Linked DNA regions of Homo sapiens: region 2 is linked to region 1. Evidence: promoter capture Hi-C in 16 types of primary human blood cells and fetal thymus (Javierre and others, 2016). All regions are on one chromosome and are shown on one strand. Each heading gives the region's core, a stretch centred on a gene start or on the middle of the fragment in contact. The rest is flanking DNA. Distances are from core to core; before and after follow the strand shown. Region 1 holds the start of DOCK2 (dedicator of cytokinesis 2). Region 2 overlaps SLIT3 (slit guidance ligand 3).

What was found. Contacts are between HindIII fragments. The CHiCAGO score rates a contact against its expected background, and 5 or more counts as called.
Region 2: a fragment that was not itself captured here is called in contact with the fragment with the promoter of DOCK2 in region 1 in 1 of 17 cell types (naive CD4 T cells); the score reaches 6.6 in naive CD4 T cells.

The regions. Positions count from the first base shown.
Region 1 is chr5:169,634,036-169,638,861 of GRCh38, reverse strand. DOCK2 (dedicator of cytokinesis 2) reads right to left here and starts at 1,587. Exons shown (of 52, transcript NM_004946.3): 1 at 1,493-1,587. The coding sequence starts at 1,535. RefSeq lists an enhancer at 790-889 and silencers at 1,150-1,209, 1,240-1,719. The HindIII fragment of the contact is 983 bases long and covers 992-1,974 here.
Region 2 is chr5:168,984,940-168,989,765 of GRCh38, reverse strand. All of the region lies in intron 4 of SLIT3 (slit guidance ligand 3), which reads left to right. Among named protein-coding and RNA genes, the nearest start is that of SLIT3-AS1, 26 kb to the left of the region's middle. The HindIII fragment of the contact is 1,854 bases long and covers 1,984-3,837 here.

The DNA.
Region 1 (4,826 bases), core at 338-2,837:
AAGGCCCGCTCCATTGCTTCCAAGTGATGTAAACTTGGTTACTTCACCTGTAAGTTGGGAATAATACACTGCCTCACATGGGGGTTCTGAAGTCAGACAGAGATTGCATGACCTTTGGTCTTGCAAACCATGAAATACTACAGTCTCATAAGGCATGACTGTCCTGAATCTGGCATTAGGGTGCATCTTGGTGCTGGTGTCTCTTGGTTCTGAAGCTGCTAGGTAAGACCCTGGACCTGAATCACTAACTCTTATTGAGCCAGCACACTACTAAATGCTTTCCATGCATAACCCCATTCAATCCTCACAAGAGTCTCATGAGACCTGCATTATTATTACTTCCACTTTATAGACGAGGAAACAGACCCTGATTTGAACTCAGTTCTGACTTCCCAGTCCAAGCCTCTAGCCTTACACATAACTCCTCAAGGGCAGAAGCTGTATCCTTCCTTACTTTGTAACTGCCCCTTGAGATATGAATTATTATTTGTTCTCTGGATGGGGACCATTTATATCAAAATGACCCCACAGTGCCCGGTACCCAGTAATTGAGTGGATAACTGCTGATCTCTCCAGGGCAGTGTTTCCCAAACAGTGGCCTGGGGACCCCCTGCATCAAATCCCTCTGGGTGTTTGGGTCTTCCAATGCCTCACCTGCGAAATATTTATCTCTGAGATGGTGTCTGGTATCCGCCTGTGTAGGAAGCTCCAGAGTGACTTTTTATTTGATATTTAAGTTTAAAAACCACAGTGAGTCCATGGAGATTGCACCACGGATGACACTTAGAGTAGCAGCACCTGAGGCCTCCCTTCCCCCAGCCACCACTTCCGCCCCTGAGCTCCAGGCAGAGGCTTCTGGGAGTTTAGATGGCTGAGGCTGACGAAGCTAGCTTCTTGGTTACCCTAAGACCACCTGGCGGGAGCCTTTTTCCCCAGAGGCTCTGGGGGGCTGAGTAGAGAACCCCACCGTCCAGCCCCATTCCCCCAAGCTTGAGCTGCCCTCTGGATGCCCTGCCAAATCAGGAGTCATCTGACCCAGGAGGAACAGACAGGGGAAGCAGGCAAATGGGTGTCGCTTTGGAGGGGGTGGAAGTATGCATGGTGGGCAGGCCAAGGCTGAGCCAGGGGAGAGTGGAGCTCCCTCTACAAGGCCAAGTCTCCCACGCGGCGAGCTGGGGCACTCCTGGGGACGCCGAGTTTGGCGCGAAGAACTGAGTTGTCAAGCGCAGGTCTTGACCCTATCTCGGAAATGTCTAAGGTTCCCTCAGCAGGCGAGAGGGCGAGGGCTGTGCTTAGCCTGCGGGGTGGGGTCCCGCCGTCCTCTCCCCGAGCCTCGGCTTTCCCGCCCCGAGGCCCCGCCGCAGGCTGCGCCCTCTGACCTGCAGGCAGCGCGCCCTGCCCACCCCGCGCCGCCGGCCCCGCAGCATCCTCCTGCTCGCGGCTCTCCCGCCACCTGTCCCGCTCCCTGCCGCGCCCTGGGGCCCGCACCTACCCACGCCGTGCCGCTCCTTGTCAGCTTTGCGCCAGGGGGCCATGGCTGGGCCGGGGCCTCGCGTCCTCCCGTGGGGAAGCCGTCAGGGGGTGGCTGGGCGCCGCAGGGCCCCACTTCCTTCCTCTTTTCAAACTCCTCTCAGGGCCCGCCCTCTCCTCCCTCGCCGGGGCTCCCCGCTCCCTCCTCCCTCCCGTTGGGCAGGGGCACACTAGAAGGCTGGTGCCCCGTAGGCTAAGACACGCCACCCCACCCCACTTCACGCAAAACTTGGGGACCACTCCCACTTTGTCTCCTCCCCAGGCGAGGGAGCAGAGGCCAGTCCCCACCTGGGGCTCGCCAGACCACCACCGCAAGTGCAGAGAGTTTCCTGATTGCCGTGCCTAGGGACTGAACAAACCTCCTTAACTCCCCTCAGCATGAGCTTTGGTGTCAGATCTCGGTTCGAATCCAGACGGGGACAAATGACTTCATTTTTCTAAGCTTCAGTTTTCTCATCTGTGAAATGGGATACTAATACCTACTTCATATGATTATTGTGAGGGTTAGAGAGACAATGTACACAGCAGGTGACATGGAAGAGTAAATGTTTACCTGGAGGTGGATCCTTTACAGCCTTTTTTTTTTTTTTTTGTGAGACGGAGTTTCGAGTTTCTCTCTTGCTGCCCAGGCTGGAGTGCAACGACGCGATCGCGGCTCACCGCGACCTCCGCCTCCCGAGTTCAAGCGACTCTCCTGTCTCAGCCTTCCCAGTAGCTGGGATTACAGGCATGCACCAGCATGCCCGGCTAACTTTGCATTTTCAGTAGAAACGTGGTTTCTCCATGTTGGTCATGCTGGTCTCGAACTCCCCACCTCAGGTGATCCGCCAGCCTCAGCCTCCCAAAGTGCTGGGATTACAGGTGTGAGCCACCGTGCCTGGCCCATTTACAGCTTTTTATCGTTTTGGTGCTACAAACCCGTTGGAAAATCTGATGTAAGCTCTAGAAGCTCTACTCTGAAAATACGTAAATACACTATTTACCAACATCACTGCAAGGTGAAGGGTGCTGTCACAGCCAGCAACAGTGGGACCCAGGAAAAGAGCCCTAGAGTTAGGCTAATGGAGACATTTCCTCGAAAAATCTCATTTTTGCTCTGAGAACAGATTCTGTCCAAAAAAAAAAAAAAAAAGTCTGATCCACAGTGATAAGGCTGAATTTAAGTTTTGCTGAGTTTTCTTTCTTTATTCATGACTCTCACTACCCCTTTCTGCCTTACACTGGAGAGTCATTAAGATAGATTAGGCAATATCACAGCTGAACTGGAGCAACAAAAAATTATTGATTTTGTTTTATCTGCAGTTATTTTCTTTTCTGTTTTCTAGCAGCACAAATTAGGTAATAATGTCTTATACAGTCAGCAGTGGTATTAGGGTTCCACCAGATGACCAGAGTAGGAGATTTTATATATATGCATACATATATATACATACATACATATATGCATATATATATACACATACATACATACATATATGCATATATATACACATACATATATGCATATATATACACATACATATATGCATATATATATACACATACATATATGCATATATATATATATATATATACACATACATATATATGTATATGAGAGACAGAGAGAGATTGGGGATTGGCTAATGCGATTGTGGGGCTGTCAGGAAGAGCAGTTTGGAAACTCACAGGCAGATGTCCTCAGGAGGAATTTCTTCTTTTTCAAGGAACCTCAGTTCTATTCATAAGGTTTGTCAACTAATTGGATCACACCAACCAAATGTATTGAGGATAATCTCCCTTAATTAAATTCAATGTATGGTAGATGTTAATCACATCTACAAAGTACTTCACAGCAACCCCTGTGAAGATTGTGAAGATTGGTATTTGATTGAATAACTGGGCCATAGCCTTGCCAAGTTGACTCACAAAACTAGCTATCACAACAATGTTATAAATTGGGACTATACAATAGAGGATGCCAAACATTTTCTGTAAAGTCACAGATAGTATTTTAGTCTTTGCAGTCCAGAAAGCAAAATCAAGTATATATGTAGGATGCAGGTACTTATGTAAAGAAAGAAAAAAGGTTCTAAATTTTTTTTATTAATAAAATTCAAAATATCATGTGAATGAGTATTTTTTGTAATACTAGCTTAGTAAGGCAAAAAAAAATACATTTTGGGAATGATATCACATTTCACCTTATTGGAGTTCAAAGTTAATGTGCCTTATCGAAATTGATTCAAATATTCATATGTTAATGCTGATCTGACAGGATATTTACTTTCTATTTCTGAAAAAAATGTTTACCAAATGGGCAATGGTTAAAAGTCCAGAAAAGCTAATAAAATTAACCTTTGATACCACTGATTCAATAACATCACAGATTTAGATATTTTCCACAAAGTACCTGATGGTGAATATTACAATTAATAATCATAAGCTTTAAATATCTTATATTTTCACCCACCTTCTAAATTTGCTCCAAAAGCCTTCTTCTGCTCCACAGATATTTTTTTTACCATGAACACTAGCAACACATCTTAGCAGATTCCACTTCAGGTTGTGTTGAATTAGTGTTTTCTCATTTTCTTTTAAAGTAATCTTGCCTATAGTTCTTCTACACAGGCTCTTCATAGAAGCTATTTCTTCATTCACTTCGAACTCAGCATTGACTTCTCAAATAAACAACAACTGAGCTGTATTGGTAATATTTGTCAACAAGAACTAAGGAAAACCACTAGAAGTCATTTTAAAATTCACTATTGATGCTTCTGTCAATGTTCTCAACCAAGCAACCAGTGTCACCAAAAGGCTAAAAGTCTTAAACTAATTTATTTTCACTGGATATATTTCATCTGCTGCTATAATCAAACATGATTTAATGAACTTAACATCAATAAAATATTTTGCCTTGCTTGCATAACAAATAAGCCACTTGGAAACTTATTCTGGTTGTAGTCTCATTTTCACTTTTTATTATTTTAAAGAAATTGTGCTGTGATGAGATATTCTGTTTTAAATTTTCTAATTTTTCTTGTCATTGCTTTTGTGTAAGTTGGAAAAGATGTGATGAGTGCTTAATCTATTATATTGTTTGGAGTGTCAACATGTAATAAACACAATGCTTTCTCCTCTGCTTTGTTTGTTTTGTGCTGCTATAACAGAATGCTACAGACTGTGTAATTTATGATGAACAGAAATTTATTTGGCTCACACCTCTGGAGGCTGGGAAGTTAAATATCAAGGGGCCAACATCCAGCAAGGGCATTTTTTTGCTGTGCCATCCCGTGGTGGAAGGTGACAGGGCAAGA
Region 2 (4,826 bases), core at 1,661-4,160, 650 kb after region 1:
TGAGCTGATTTTCTACGTTTCTTGTTCATTCTCTCTGATCTTCTCGTTTTAGGGTGGCTATGGGAACAGTGACTACCAATTACTTTCCTGGGTCTTTGCCCTGCTTTGCACTAGTTTGTGCCTGCATTTTCCATTCTGGTGGATGTTGGTTACCACTCAGATTTGCCTCACTCTTTTAGGATACAACTAGTTCGCGCTTTAGAACTTTCAGAATTACATTAGATGCAGAGATGTTAGCTGGAACTTGTCACCTCACATTCTCCCTCTGCTCGGGCTCTCCTCCTTACCCCAAAGAGCGAGACAAGTGTGGCAAATCCCACCTGAAAGTTTGCTGCAAGTCTCCTGCTGTGTTTTCAGCAAATTCATTTCAGGTGGCTGTGCCTAAGTTTGCAGCTCATCTTCTATTTTGTAGAAGAATCACTTGGGTGGTTCCTTCCTCTCATAGGTGCTTTCCTTCCCTGTCAAGTTTGTTTTGGAAACCAACTTTTTAAACTTTTTGTTACTAATAAGAATTTTGTTTTGTGGGAATTCCTAACCGAAAACAAAACAAAAGATCATTTCCTAAGGATGTATGCTTACCATATTCCGTCTTGTATGGATTTGCCTGCTTTTCATGTCTTTGCAAAAGAGGCATTCTTTCTGTTCTGTTCTGCAAGGCTCCTGTATTTGGTGTAGCTTTCTAATAAAATACTTGAATTCAGTGGTGTGTCTCTGAGGCAAATTAATTTAGTGCCATGGTTGAGACTGAAGATGTAAATGTCCAATAACATTGAGAGCAGGAGTTTGCTTTAGCAGGATTTGTTAATGAAAGTACATCCAGAAACTTTCACTTTCTGCAGTGAACAGTGAGGACAAATGCTGGCCTGGCTGAGATGGGGAGAGTGGTGTGCCAAGGAGATCCCAGGAGAGAGATGCTGATTCTTTTCTCTGGAGGCAAAACCCAGGAAGGCTTTCGAGGCTCAATTCTAGTGCTGCCTGCCCCTGGGGGGGGGTCTCCTAGTTGATTCTCCTCCAGTGTGCCAAAGTGAGATCCGTGAAGATTTTCCATCCAGGTGAAATTTAAATCCCACCCATTCACCCTTTTATATAACGTATGCATGTTAATTGCATCCCTAAGTATTTGGTTGGAAGTTTGCTTTAAGTTAGATCTCGCAGTCTTCCTGAGTTCTGCCCTGTTTTGCTATTTCCCAGAAGCTCTTTTGAGGGAACGTCCAGGAAGCCACACACCCTCCTTCTATACCCTGCAGCTCCAAGTGGTCGGGAGCCCTTGGAAAGAGCTGAGAGTTAGACTCAAGGATCTGGGTCCTTCCCTGCCAGCCCAGCCATGTGACCTGGGCAAGACCATTCTACTCTCCCCATCATGCAGGATCTGAGTGTTGTCTGTGTTCCCTTCCAAATATAAAATTATGGAATTGTAGGACTTTGGGAAATTGCATGTCCACAATTTCTTTTTCCATGGGAAAAAAAGGGAAACCATATCTATGGAGTTACAGTGGAGATGTAGCAGAGATGCCCTAGAGCGAGCAACCATCTGTGTTTGCCTAGCACGGAAGGATTTTCCAGGACACAGGGCTTCCCGTTTTAAAACCCAGAAAGTCTCAGACAAAATGGTCACCATAGGTGCACATATGGTCCATTCACCAGACTCCCTGACACCTTAATACAGGTGCAGGATGGCGAAGCCCAGCCTAGGGAGGTTTCTAAACCCCGCAGGCTTTCTGATGGAGTGTGGCTGAAAGAAAGGGGGAGACAGGTGCCAGCCACATTCCCTAGAAGAGAACACCTTAATGTGCAGTTGACTTGTTTGATCTGCTTCAGCTGTGACACAGTGGTCCCATGTGTACAGGTAGTGCACTCACAGAAAATGGAACCAGGGGCCTATGAGGATATTCAGTCCCCCCACCTACCTAACACCGAAAAAGAAGTCATCTATATATTCCATAAGAAATCATTTCGTTCTTTCCCGTTCTGGAAATAAAAGCTTCCTCCATAATGGGTGGGCTGCCACCTTGTGGCCATGAGTGGGAATGTGGGAAAGTACAGGTAACCACAGAGGACTAAATGCCTCTGGGTTTAAATCAATTCGGTTCCTATAGGGTACGAGGCAGTGAGCTAGATGCTTGTGTGGCTAAGACTATCATTATGTTACCAAGGGTAGAGCTTTACTGTGTGCATGTGATAAATACGCTTAGCAGTTTGCATGTAGTATCTCCTATAGTGTGCTTAACAACCCTGACAGGCAGGAATCATCACCATTTTACAGATGAGGAAACTGACACTCAGAGGTTAAGTACATTTTTAAGGTGACACAGCAAAGAGCTAGGATTTGAAACCAGGATTGGCTGGCCCTAAAGCTCATGGTCTGGACCACTAGGCTATACTGCTAGAGAGATTAGCGTGAATAGAAAAATAGGACCACATAGATAGTCTGGGTGGGAGAAATAGGTCATTGTGAATATGTGGGAGAGATTAACTTGGTGAACATAAAGGAAGAATGCAAAGCAGGGAGTGACTCTGACATCAAAAGCAGTGGAATCCAGAGTAAAGAGGGAGAGAGAACTAGAGTTGTCAGGATTCCAGGTTAAGGGGAAGGTGGGATTTGAAGTAGCTGTTGAAGGATGGATAGGAATCAGATCAACAGAGAGAGCTACAGCTTAGTGACCATTAATAAGCTGGCCAAGTCCGTGTTTGATAAATATTAGCCTTCTTTTATTTTTTGAGATGGAATCTCGCTCTGTTGCCCAGGCTGGAGTGCAGTGGCATGATCTCAGCTCACTGCAACCTCTGCCTCCCGGGTTCAAGCGATTCTCCTGCCTCAGCCTCCTGAGTACCTGGGATTAAAGGTGCGTGCCACCACGCCCGGCTAAATATTAGCCTTTGTAAACAATGTGTATATCATGAGTTAAACCCACACTAAAGGCTTTTTATATATGTATCTCATTAATGTGCAAAGGCCCTGCAAGGTCTTTGTTGTTATGACCCCCATTTTATAGGTGAGGAATCTAAGCAGTAGAGAGGTGGTCACTCACCCATGGTCACATTCATAATAAAGGAGTCACAATGTGAACCCACGTCCTTCTGACTCCAAGCCTGTGCTAAAACTGCTTGTGGTGGAGAAAACTCCCACTAGCACAGGAAGGGAGGGCCATGCTCACAGCATGCCTGGATGGTCCAGGTCATGCAAGTTATGATAAAGGAGAGAGCGTGCAGGGGTGGGATGGACGAGGACACTGAGAATGGAGATGGGGGCCTGGATGCTGATGTTTTCGCTGATAAATATGTTGAAGCCTCTCCCTGCAGCTACCAATGTACCAATGTGAGCTGAAAAGCATCATGGTACCCAAAGGGAGAGGAGGGCTATGGAGGCCATGTAAGAAGGGCGCCACCGTCCAAATATTTCCTTTCCCTTATCTACACCACTGGGAAGTGCGGTGCATGGCTCCTTCACAAACTGACCGATCTCAAGTGGGTTAATTCTCCCCTTTTGGCCTCCATTTCATCATCTATCATATAGGGATCGTGATTTTTGCCCTACGTCATGAAATTTGCCTACTTAGCATCTAGCACTGTCAGGGAATTGGGAGAACCAGACGTAAGAAAAGACATGAAAGAACTGAAAAGTATGAGGTATATTACATATTCTGATTTTGTAAACTGAATGCATATGCCTTTTGAGAAGACTCAGTGTCAGCCCCTTATAGAAGGCATTTCTTCGTGAGGCTGGACGTTTCATTTGAAAAGCCTTACTACATGATGAAGTGCCTTTCAGTCACAAGGTTTTAGGGAAAGCAAACCCAAGTTTAAAAAGAGATGATTGACTTATGGGTCTGAAAAGCTTGGGAGTGCGGCACTCCCAGGCATGATTTAACCAGGGGTTCAAATACAACCACCATACTCTGTCTCTGTATCTCTCTTCCTACCCCCCGCCATCATCCCTCCTTTCCTTCTCTTGTTTTTTCTGCATTGGCTCCATTTGCAGAGAGGAGCCCTCTCCTCACTGTAGCAAGACGGCCACCACAGCTGCAAACCTCACAGCCTCCCGGTTCAAGGTGAGTCTTTGTCCCTGCATTCCTGTGAGCACATCTGCTCCCATTGGCTACAGCATGGTCACGGGACAGAGAATGAGAAATGCTAATTGCCTTAGCCCAGACCACATGCTGCGCCCACCATGCATAGGAACTGAAATTAGGGAGGAGTGGACCTGCAAATAAAAATGAGGGCTGTTGCAGTAAAACACAGGGAAAGAAGTGCTGGGAAGGCAAGCAGTCAACCACTCAGTTGTTCCCATGCACCATGATTGCTTTTCTCCTTGGTTTGTCATCACCAGGACACAGACTCCCCTTGCCGGAAGCAAAGCCTTTGCATCTGGTTTGCTCCACGGCAGTTCAGAGATTGCTGAAGCCCAATCTCATATGACGATCCAAGATCTTAGGAAGTCCAGAAAAATGGGCAGGATAACCTTGGAAGCCAAGATGGCATATTCGTGGCTCAGTTCAGATGGTACAAGGAACTAGGTCCTGACTCCTGGGCTAGTTGTGGAAAAAGTTCAAGCGATCTTTAGGTTCAGTTTAATTCCCCACCCAGGAATTGAACTCTTCCTGCAAGGTGCAAAGCCCAGGGTGGCCACGGAAGGAACTCTGAACATCCCTGATCTTAGAGAATTCATGTCTAGTAGAGAACACAGTTGGGGGTCAAGTAATTGTCATTCTAAGAAATGGCCTGAAAATTTTAGATGACTCCCTTACCGGTTTCTTGTTGCTTTCCTCTTAGCATTTCTCTCCTATGTGTGATATTTCTGGATCATTACTTCTCAAAGTTTATTATTA